Linked DNA regions of Homo sapiens: regions 1 and 2 are each linked to region 3. The links are contacts of gene promoters, found by promoter capture Hi-C in human tissues and cell types (Jung and others, 2019). All regions are on one chromosome and are shown on one strand. Each heading gives the region's core, a stretch centred on a gene start or on the middle of the fragment in contact. The rest is flanking DNA. Distances are from core to core; before and after follow the strand shown. Region 1 holds the start of TBATA (thymus, brain and testes associated). Region 2 overlaps PPA1 (inorganic pyrophosphatase 1). Region 3 holds the start of PALD1 (phosphatase domain containing paladin 1).

Region 1 (3,540 bases), core at 202-2,701, 310 kb before region 3:
GTATTCCTGCAGAGACAGGCCCAGAAAAAGCCAGGGAACATCCTGACCTGCCGAAGGATGGGTGGGCATTTGGAGTAGGCCAAGACCAGAGGACAGCCCTCAGGGGGCCACCAGAGTGGTATGAATCCCCACCCCTTAGCTGGGAGGGGCAGAACTTTTGAAGGACTTGGGTTTGCCTCTAGCTACCCACCTTCCTTTTCTTGCTCCCCAGAGAAAAGACACAGAGTCTGGAAGCCCCAGGGCACCAGTATGAAGCCAGGGGTGCTGAGAGCAAAGGCCCTGGGAAAAGCCCACCTCATCATTCTGAGGGACAGCACCCGGCACTGTCTGCAAGCCTTCCCATAGTTTACAGAGCCTGTCTGCACCCCTCCCGGGATCTGATTGAGTTACAGCCCTGTCGGCTAAGAACTATCCTTACCCCCATTTGACAGGTGTCCAAGTTGAGCCTCAGAGAAATAGTGAACTACCTAAGATAGTTCTCAGACAAAGGACTCATCCTACTACCTCCATCAAGTTACCAATAATAATGATGATTATTATCCTTTTTGAGCATCTCTTGTGTGCCAGACATACAACTAAAGGCTTCACTTCCATTAGCTTGTCTTCAGAACAACCACAGAAGTAGGTGAGGATATCCCATTTTATAGACCCAGAGAAGGCAATAATAGTAAGAAATTATACTTGGGGGCAGATACTGTTTGAAACGCTTTAATATATATCAACTCACTTAATATTCTCAAACATCCTGTGAGAATAAGTGCAGTATCATCATCTCCATTTTAGAGATATGGGAACTAAGGCTCAGAGAAGGCAGGTGCATTGTCTGAGGCCACACAACTAGGAAGTAGCAGAATAGGGACTCGAAGCAAGGATTCTTCCCACTATTTTGCATCTGTGGCAGTCCCGGTGACTTACCCAAGGTAACGTGTCTATGGGATGTTGAAATCTGATTAAAACACCTGTCCAAATGCAAGCCCAGAATCTTCCCACCCAGCTGTCATGCAGAGAGAGGGGCTGGGGTCCCTCTGGGTAATGCGGGCTGCCATCTTCTCTCCTTCCAAGACCCACCTCCCTGAGAATGGGTCCCCAGAACCAAGATGCATGGAAGCCGACCCCTGTGTGGTGGGGTCAGGCCAGGTGGGGCTGACGAAGCTGGGACGCAGCCCACCAACGTCCTCTGCCAGCGTTCCGCCTCCATCCGCTTCTCTCTGGCTAAAACCAGCCCCAGACTCTCCTTCTCTCCCTTGGCCCCCATTGAAAGTGTTGGATGGGAGGCAGCAGGGAAGTCAGGAGGGACAGAAGGTCCTTAGCCCTTGTCTACCCTTCCAGGAGGGGGAGATAGGCAGGGGATGTGGTAGAGGGGTGCTGGGCAGAGGTTCTGGAGTTGTGGGAACAGGGTAACCTAGCAACCACTGGGCTCAGTGTCACAAAGCAGGCAGACTTGCCCACAGAACCCACAGCCTTCCCCTCGATTTGTCCTCTTGCTCCTTCCTGCTAGGACAGCAGGGCTTCTCGTACACATGCTGTAGCGGGCACTGCCTTGGTGAGTCCAGGGACCTCTCGGGAGAGGAGATGGACCCTGGACAGCCCAGAAGGGCAGAGGTAGAAAGGGAAGTTTTGTGGCTGGATTGATGGGAGCCCTCAGACCCCTCTGCCTGGCTGGCTGGGGCCCCAGGGACAGAGAGCAGGGGCAGGGCAGGGCAGACTACACTGGGGTCCCACCTGTCCCGCTCTGGACAAGGCAGGCTTGGCCTACTAGAGTCCCTGTCAGCCTCTCTACAGCCGCTGTGGGTTATGACCCCCTGGTGGCTTATTAGATCAATTTAAATGGATCATATCTAACATTTAAGAAATAAAAACCAAAAATAGGGTAAAAATATCAGTGTGCATCATATGTAGTACGGATAAATATTGCTTCAGGATATTATTGTTTTAGTTTCACACACACACACAAACCCATATGTGAATTGGATCATGACATAAAGAATTTCTTACCGTCATCACAGCCAAACACATTTGCAAGTCTCTGTTCTAAAGAGTACTTTTTCCCATAGGCAGGAGGATTTGGGGCTTCCACATATCCTGTTCTCAAGATTGTAGCATCTCAGTACTCTAGAGCCCAGTACCTGACATCAAGGATGTCTGGAGCTTCCTTTTAAGGAAAGAAAAGATCAGCAAACTGTGAGTCAGACTGCCCGGGCTCTGGTTCCTTCTGTGTGACCTCAGCAAATCTCCCCTGCTTCCCTGATCTCAGACAACTCCAACCCATCCCACTACCTGATGAAGGCTGGCATTGGGAGATCTCTGGGGTCCCTTGCAGATTCTGTGACTCTGAGGGTTAATTCTCAGAATGCACTGATGTCCTGTCCCAACCCCATCCCTAGCACTTTGGCTAGATATATATATTCAGGTCCATAGATTTAATCATAATTCTTGGTTTTGACACCTATCATCTTTCATCTATGCCATTTAATTAGTTTATTTAATAATATAATAAACACAAGCAAATACACCACCCAAACCAAGAACAAGAACATCATCACTAACACATCTCCTTATATGCGCTTCTCCTGCACACTTCCCCTCCCCGCCTTCCCTCGGAAATAGCCACTATGTGAATTTCGTGCTTAGCATTTCCTTGTTTGATGCTGTTGTTGCTGTTTTATCGCATGTTCATGATCATTTTGCTTGCTTTTAAACTTTTATTTTTAGAAAGGATCTCAGGCTATGTGGTCCTCTGGAACTTGTGGTCCTCTGGAACACACATAAACTAAACCATTTATGAAAGAAAAATAATATGTTTTTAAACAACATTTATACTGTTTAGTAGTTATTTTATATTATCCACACATTATATATAGTGGATGACAACAATTGTATTGTTTCAAATGCATATATCTTGTTCTACTGCAGCCTATTTAATAGTAATTAATAAAAAGTAAATTGAGTTAATAAGATTGCATAAATATAACATCGCAAAACCAAGAATTGTTAAGTTTTCTCATACTGATTATAAGATTCATCCATGTTGTTACATGTAGCTGTGGCTCATTTATTTTCATAGCAATAAAGTATCCCATTGTCTGAATGCACCACAGCTTATTTATCCATTCTTCTGCCATCAGACATTTGGGTTGCCACCAGGTTTTTGCTATTTTGAACAGTGTTTGTATGAATATTCTTATAAGTAGCCCCTGTTGTACATCTATAAGAATTTCTCTTATATCTGGGAAAGAAATTGCTGGGTGATACAGCATGCAAATGCTCAATTTTAAAAGATATTACCATTTCTCCCCCTAAAGTGCCTGTTCCCGTTTACACTTCCACCACCAGTTCGTGAGAGTTCCTGTTCTGCATCCTCAACACTAGTATTAAGTGAGAGTTCCTGTTCTGCATCCTCAACGCTAGTATTAAGTGCACTGGCCTTTAGTCTGTTAAAAAGCATACAATGGCTACAGATGTTCAATTGGCTGATTATCCACTGATGAGGTGAGGCTCCAAATGCCCACCCTGCTGACTGAGGAGGGCTTGGGGTAGGGC
Region 2 (3,813 bases), core at 1-2,500, 260 kb after region 3:
TAATTTCTTTTTTTTTTTTTTTTTTTTTTTTGAGACGGAGTCTTGCTCTGTGGCCCAGGCTGGAGTGCAGTGGTGTGATCTCAGTTCACTGCAACCTCCGCCTCCCAGGTTCACGCCATTCTCCTGCCTCAGCCTCCCGAGTAGCTGGGACTACAGGCACCTGCCACCACGCCCAGCTAATTTTTTTGTATTTTTAGTAGACACGGTTTTTCACTGTGTTAGCCAGGATGGTCTCGATCTCCTGACCTCATAATCCGCCCACCTCGGCCTCCCAAAGTGCTATGATTACAGGTGTGAGCCACCACCCCCCGGCCTCACCCAGCTAATTTCTAAAAAGCACCAGACCTTCAAGCTTTTGTTCGCAGCAGAATTCTCTTACCATTTTCTGAAGGATGTTTTCTTCCTTGTTATTTTTTTCCTTCCCATTAATTATGTAGATTTATGTTATTAGGTAATACTGTTTTGAGGATCTATACATATTTGTCATTTACTGCTATTAAAGTGTTCAATATAGTTTCTAAACTTTGAATTAGTTATTTTAGCTCTATCTGCTATATCTTTCTTGAAGCAATGTATTCATTTGGTGGTGTTTTAACGAAATTAACAGCTAATCTTGGCGAGCTCTTCAGTTGATCTTTCATGTCGTAACAGCTCCATCTTGTGAATCTTTAGGGTACTGCTGCTGGAAACCGAAAGCCCTGACTTGTTCTTTTCACAGACCTACAGATCTCTCGTTTTTACACCTGAGAAGTGGACAAAATACTTGAAAACCTAGTGGACAAGGTGAAATTTAGTCAAAGATTGGTTCTGAGGTTTTCTACCCAGGATTAATAATTAGTGTTACATTTTCTAAACCATCTGGTTATTTTAGAGGGAAACAGGGATAGAGCAGTTTCTTCAGTCCTAGATTTAAGTAATATCTCCATTCTTTTGGTTTTTATGTTGTATTGGGTAAGTGAGGTATCAGGAGGCTTGGAGCAGAAACCTATGGATGCTTTAGTCTCCCATGGTTTCAGCAGGAACTTAAAATGACAGAAGTTCTACACTTTTGAATCAAAATCAGTGTAGTTTTTCTGCTTGGTAGCAGCAGGTAATTATTGACTTGAAACCTTTGACTTATTCCCTTGTGGCTTATCAGTTCCCGTTTTTTGATGGAAAGTAGCAAAGAAGTAATTCTAAAGAGTGGTGTAACCAAGTGATTTTCATTTTAAGTTAAGTTCTTAAAATGTACTTTACCAGTCTGGGGTAACATGGCAAAGCTCCATCTCTACAAAAAAAAAAAAAAAAAAATATATATATATATATATAAATTATATATATATATAATTTATATATATATTATATATATAAATTATATATATGTTATATATATAAATTATATATATAGTATATATATAAAAATTATATATATTATATATAAATTATATATATAGTATATATAAAAATTATATATATTATATATAAATTATATATATAGTATATATAAAGTATATATTATATATATAAGAATTATATATATAATATATATAAAAATTATATATATAATATATATAAAAATTATATATATTATATATATATAAATTATATATATTATATATATATAAATTATATATATTATATATATATAAATTATATATATTATATATATAAATTATATATATTATATATATATAAATTATATATATTATATATATATAAATTATATATAATATATATATAAATTATATATATTATATATATATAAATTATATATAATATATATATAAATTATATATAATATATAATTATATATATTATATATATAATTATATATATATTATACATAAAAATTATATATAATACATATATAATTTATATATATAAAATTATATAATATATATAAAAATTATATATATATGCACATACACGCACACACACACACATATATACATATACACACACACACAATTAGCTGGATGTGGTGGCATGCATCTGTAGCTCCAGCTACTCAGGAGGCTGAGATGGGAAGATTGCTTGAGCCAGGGTGGTTGAGGCTTCAGTGAGTCAAGCTCATACCACTGCACTCCAGCCTAGGTGGCAGAGTGAGACCTTGTCTCAAAAAAAAAAAAAAAAAGTACTTTTTATAAGCATAATTGCAGGCCAGGTGCGGTGGCTTACACCTGTAATCCCAGCACTTTGGGAGGCTGAGGCGGGTGGATCACCTGAGGTCAGGAGTTTGAGACCAGCCTGGCCAACATGGCGAAACTCCATCTCTACTAAAAATACAAAAATTAGCCAGGTGTAGTGGCACGCCCCTGTGTTATCCCAGCTACTCAGGAGGCTGAGACAGTAGAATCACTTGAACTCAGGAGGCAGAGGTTGCAGTGAGCCAAGATTGTGCCACTGCACTCCAGCCTGGGTGACAGAAAACAGTAATTGCAGATTTAGCTTCATCTGTGCCCTTTGTAGAGGCTAAAAACTGAAAAACTGCAGTTAAAGTTCTATTCCGTGAAAAAAAATAGTATTCTGAATAATTAAAGCTCAAGTTTAATTAAATAACCTATGGCATATTTAACTCCAGTGTGCAAAATGGGTTGGCAAAGTATGGTTTGTTTTTTCATTGTGTTTTTAAACTGCACATCTGGGAATTTACTCCCTGAATATATCATCTATTTTATAGTAGTCAGTTTAAGGCTATAAGCCAATTACAGTAGAACTATCATTGATTAAAATATTTTTAAAGCATATTCTCTTATCTTCAAGGTCAAAGTCCTTTTCAGGGGGGCTTTATTTCTAAAAACAGCCGAATTGGGAGAATAATGTGGATAATGAAGCTGATGAGTTTTGTTTGATGCTAAAACTAAAGTATGACCAAGTAATTAGGCTGATGTGGGGTTCGTCTTATAAACTAAAGTATGATCAAGTAATTAGTCTGACTTGGGGTTTGTCTTATAAACTGTCTCTGAAATAGAAGCTCCAAAAACATTTTGAGTAATTGCAGTGTCTCTGAAGGAAATAACACTGGCCTTTGGAGAGTGTTTTGAAGATGGTCTTCTTCAGAGATACAGGTTCTGTTACGTTTATTTAAGAACTGTTTCCTTCCTAGGAACATTCTTTCCACTGTCAGCTTTTATTCTGAAACACTTAAAGCATACAGAAAAGTTAAAAGATTTATATAGTAAGTTGGCTGGGCAAGATGGCTCACACCTGTAATCCTAGCACTTTGGGAGGTGGAGGCAGGAGGATCACTTGAGGCCAGGAGTTTGAGACCAGCCTGGGCAACACAGTAAGACCTTGCCTCTATAAAAAATTTAGAAGTAAATAAAAATTAAGAAGAACTATACCGTAAGCAATCATATACTGACCACCTTGATTCTATAATGAATATTTTCCTATAATTGCATTATTTCTTCATCCATCATTCTCTTTTTTTGATGCATTTTGTTGAAAATCCAATTGACTTCAAAGATCTGATACAATGAACAGTTTGACTTTGGAAGAAATAGTGCATGCTCCCTCAGAGAACAAATTGGCTCCTGTGACCATCTCACTTTCTCTTTGTTTTTTCAGGATGTGTTTCACATGGTAGTTGAAGTACCACGCTGGTCTAATGCAAAAATGGAGGTAATATTTCACCTTACATTTGAGTCAGACTTAGGATATTGGTTTTGATCTAGTCACACTGACTTGATCAAGGATGAACCATCTGAACGTCAAGGTTTTTCTCTGTCTGGTCCCAGTCTATTTTCTAGTTGTATCTCCCATTGCCTACTAGTCTTCCCTTTGGGCTCCAGCTAAACTCAACTGTTTACAAATATGCCCCAAACTTTTCTT
Region 3 (3,729 bases), core at 1,230-3,729:
TCCGCTGGCTCTGGCAAGCATATGTGTCTGTGCCCCCCAGGAGCTCACAGCCAACTCCATTCTGCCCAGGCACTTGAGCGGCTTCCCTGTGGCTCCGAGTCTTTTGTCTGGGAATGTCGGTTCCCATCCCCGTCTGTGCTCTGCTGGGTCTACCTATATGTCTGTCCACTTACATGTCTGCCTCCCATGTGGGGAGATTCAGATCCCAGCAATGGTGTATTTCTATGTACGTGTCTGCAGCCCATACGTGGCCCACGCTGATGGGTTCATGTATGTCTGTCCCCGCACATGTCTGTGTCCCTGGGTTGTTTGCTCACCCCCACCATCCTCCTGTGTCTGTCCTCAAGTATATATGTATCCAGCTCCTCTACGTCTCTGCCCACACAGATGTAAACCTGAGCACACACACGCACTCACGTCTCTGCCCACACGGGGCATCCCCCACAGGTGCCTGGGTAACCCAGGTCTGTGCACCACCTGTTTGGAGGCAGGCAAGTGTGTTCACACAAGTTCTCACAGTGCCAGCCAAGGGCTTCGGGTGAGCTCAGCAACTCCCACTCCCAGAACTGCACCCAAGGCCACGAGCATGAGCACACTGCCACCTCCACGAAGTGCTCCAGAAAAACAGAAACCTGCCAGGGACAATGAGGGAGGGGGCAGGGCCCCAGATACAGCAGAGCCTCACAGAAGTGAGGTCAGAGCTGTGCCAGGAACCACCCACCTCAAGCCACCTGGGCCCTACTGTGCCCACCCCCAACACTGGCCAGGAAAGGGAGGGGGGTGCATGCACCACCTGGGGTCTGTCTGCACTCATAGGAAACTGGCCCAGTGCCTGCCAGCCTCCCGACCTACCCCAACCCCCCGCGACAGAGGCTCTTCAGAAAGGAAGTGAGGACTTCCTCCTGCTTACCTCTGAACCTCCTACAAGGCTGGCTCTAGACCCCAAACCCCAGGAGCCACAGGGCAACTAGGAGTGTCCTGTGCTCAGCCCAAGCCAAGAAACCAAATGGGTTATTTCAGAAATCCACCAGCAGGAAACAAACAAACCTGGGAGTGGGTGGGGATGAGTGCAGGAGAACCTCCTCAGCGCCCCTGCTGCTCCCTGCCCTTGGAGCAAGGTAATAAGGAAGGGCGGGCATGGAGCTGGAACATTTCAGCACATTTGCTTGCTTGCATGGAACTGGATCTCTGCTGCCCTGGCACTCTCGCAGCCTACATTACTCACATAGCAATTAATGGTGTGTAGCCTCTTGGCTTTCCACTATTACCAGTTCAGGACTGGTATTGAAACCCTGTATCGGGGAACTTTGTGTGTTTATGTCCTGTCTTGCCCCCAGGGGCTGAGCCTCCTGAGGACAGAATCCTCCAAATCCTCCTCCATCCACACATTCCAGGGGCACGGCCCAGTGCCCTTCCTGGCATTTAAGAGGTGCTCGGCCACTGGGTTCAGGTTACTCTACCCAGAAGCCAAGGAGTTGGTTCCTGGGCCTCTGGCTGGGAGAGTAGAGATGCCCAGAAGATTCCCTGGGCCATGAAGCTTTACTCCCATCTCTGACAACCCAAGAGAAAGGGCTCCAACCATCCCGGCCACCTTCAGGAGCCGGGTCTCCCATAGGCCACTCTCTCTCTGACAGGTTACTGCCCCTTCAGGAAAACCCTCTGAAACTGAAAAACGTACTCTCCTTGGAGACCCGGGCCTACAGAGGAAGAGGGCCAGACTGGGCCAAGAATCAAAGCCTGTGCCCGCTGAGACTTCTGGACTCGTCCTGGGTCTGAGGGCCTCACGCCCCCTAGAGATGAGTCCCAGGACCCCATCTCGGTCATGAAGCGGCTTCCCTCTCCCCAATCTCCCCCTAACTTCGCGGGAAACCCTAGCTCCTGGCCATGCTCCCAGGTCTGGCAATGAAAAGTGGAATTGTCACCAGGCCATGCCTACACCAAACCCAGGGAACTCGGGAGAGGGGGTAGCCCAGGGTCCAACACACACAACCACCCAGCAACTGCTCCCTGTGAGTCCCTCTTGCCTCCCAGGGACCAATCCTGAGCGGGTGTGGGGTGAAGGCCCAGGACCTCACCTCTCCAAAGGATGGGGAGTTGGTGTCTGGAGCAGCCTCGGGCTGGGGGGTGCCCGGGGGATTCCAGATTTGCCCTCCCCTCGCCAGCCCCAGGGCAGGACACTTCGGTACCTGCCAGCCCGCGGCTCCGGGGGGCATCCGTGCTCCTGCGGCCGGCGTGCTGCGCCCGAACTGCGGGCGCCGAGTCAGGCAGCGACGGGGCGCGCCCGGCGCGCGCTCTGGCTCCAGCTCGCTCCTCCCAACTTCGCCAGCCCATGCGGGGGCAGAGGTGGCTCCGGAGGTGGGCAGGCCAGGCGGACCCGGCGAGGCCACGCGAGAGGGAGCCCGTGCTCACCGGCGACGGGACCTGCGCGCCCCGGCCCGTGCGCGCCGCGCTGCTCCCCAGCGCCCCGCTACCCAACGCCGAGGGGCGGACCCGACCCGGCCGCCAATCACCGCGCCCGCCCCCGCCCGGACCGCGAGTCCCGGCCCCACCGCGAGGGGCGGGGGGCTCAGATTTAAAGACACACTCAGCCCAGCCGCAGCCCCCGGGCGGGAGGAACGCGGGCGCCACGTTCCCCGGCTGCGCTTCCTCCCTCCGCCCGCCCACCCTCCGCGAGGAGGAAAAGTTTGGGGCGGGGGAGACTGCCCGGGAAGCCAGTTCCTCTTCCCTCGTCGCTAGTGCGGCTCCTTCTGGAAGACACCCAAACCCGACATCCAGCCTCCTGGCTGCGAGAGGCAGCAGCGCTCTGGGCGCCACACCCCGTCCCGGACGCCGGCTACCCGCGACACCCGCTGGCCCGGCTTCCCTCGCCCCCCTCTGCTTTACAGCCAGGCCGAGCCTCGGCGGGACCGAGCCCAGCATCCGGGCTCCGGGCCGGCCTCGCTGTGCAGTGCGGCCGGAGCTGGATGATGGTGCGCTCTGCACTTTTGCCTCCCACGTGTCGAAGGGGAGCCCCTAAACAGCAGACGGTCCCCCCAAGCAGGGGCTTCTCCCACGCCCCGGGGTCCTAAGGAAACGCGCCCCTCGGCCCCCAGAGGTGAGAGGGGAACAGCAGAGCAGAGCTTTGGATGGAGAGGGGTCCCTCCGCCCCCACCCATCATGCGGCTCCAGGCAGTGACCCGCACCATAGGCCTGCCCCCCCCACCACTCCTCACCCCACACGCGCGGACTAGCACTAGGCGGCAGCCAGCCCGGCCCACTCCGACGGCCCCGCACGCCCCCGCGAGCACGTGGGTGAACGCACCCACGTGCGTGCGTTCACTCTTCGCTGTGCTTCCTCGCGGAGAGATAGGCTTTGTTGTGGTTGGTGAGTCACTTCCTCCCTCTCGCTGCTCCACACTCGGGAAATCCTTTTTTCTCACCTGTTACCACCTGCCTCACCCCCATTCAGGACTGGAGCTGGATTTCGGCGAGCTGGGGTTGCCCCAGGATGCAGGCAGTGTAGGCCCCACCTCTGTCAGGCTGGAGAGCGCTGGGCTGGGAGAGGGGAACACATTCCCCATGACCCCTAAGAATAACTGAAGACAAGAGAAATCACTCATTGTGGTGGTCTCACCATGTCCCTAGCACCTAGCTCTTAAGTGCCTCGCGAAGTTATAAGGTCGGTACTTTTCTGATCCCTATTTTAACAAATGAGGAAACAGGCCCAGGGAAGACTTGTCCTCAGCTCCA

Evidence for each region. The method cuts DNA at HindIII sites, captures the fragments that hold promoters and counts their contacts. A contact is called where the count stands out against the background at its distance.
Region 1: the fragment with the promoter of TBATA here is called in contact with the fragment with the promoter of PALD1 in region 3 in 2 of the 25 tissues and cell types used here (adrenal gland and lymphoblastoid cells).
Region 2: a contact is called between a fragment that was not itself captured here and the fragment with the promoter of PALD1 in region 3, in 1 of the 25 tissues and cell types used here (bladder).

The regions. Positions count from the first base shown.
Region 1 is chr10:70,783,288-70,786,827 of GRCh38, reverse strand. TBATA (thymus, brain and testes associated) reads left to right here and starts at 1,451. Exons shown (of 11, transcript NM_001318241.2): 1 at 1,451-1,543; 2 at 2,055-2,181; 3 at 3,303-3,489. The coding sequence starts at 3,449. The HindIII fragment of the contact is 18,774 bases long and covers 1-3,540 here.
Region 2 is chr10:70,218,554-70,222,366 of GRCh38, reverse strand. It overlaps PPA1 (inorganic pyrophosphatase 1), which reads left to right. Exons shown (of 11, transcript NM_021129.4): 3 at 3,550-3,603. Among named protein-coding and RNA genes, the nearest start is that of PPA1, 13 kb to the left of the region's middle. RefSeq lists enhancers at 1-126, 127-627. The HindIII fragment of the contact is 5,424 bases long and covers 1-3,813 here.
Region 3 is chr10:70,477,517-70,481,245 of GRCh38, reverse strand. It overlaps PALD1 (phosphatase domain containing paladin 1), which reads right to left and starts at 2,479. Exons shown (of 20, transcript NM_014431.3): 1 at 2,187-2,479. RefSeq lists enhancers at 1-506, 684-863, 507-1,149 and silencers at 2,144-2,593, 2,794-2,863. The HindIII fragment of the contact is 10,532 bases long and covers 250-3,729 here.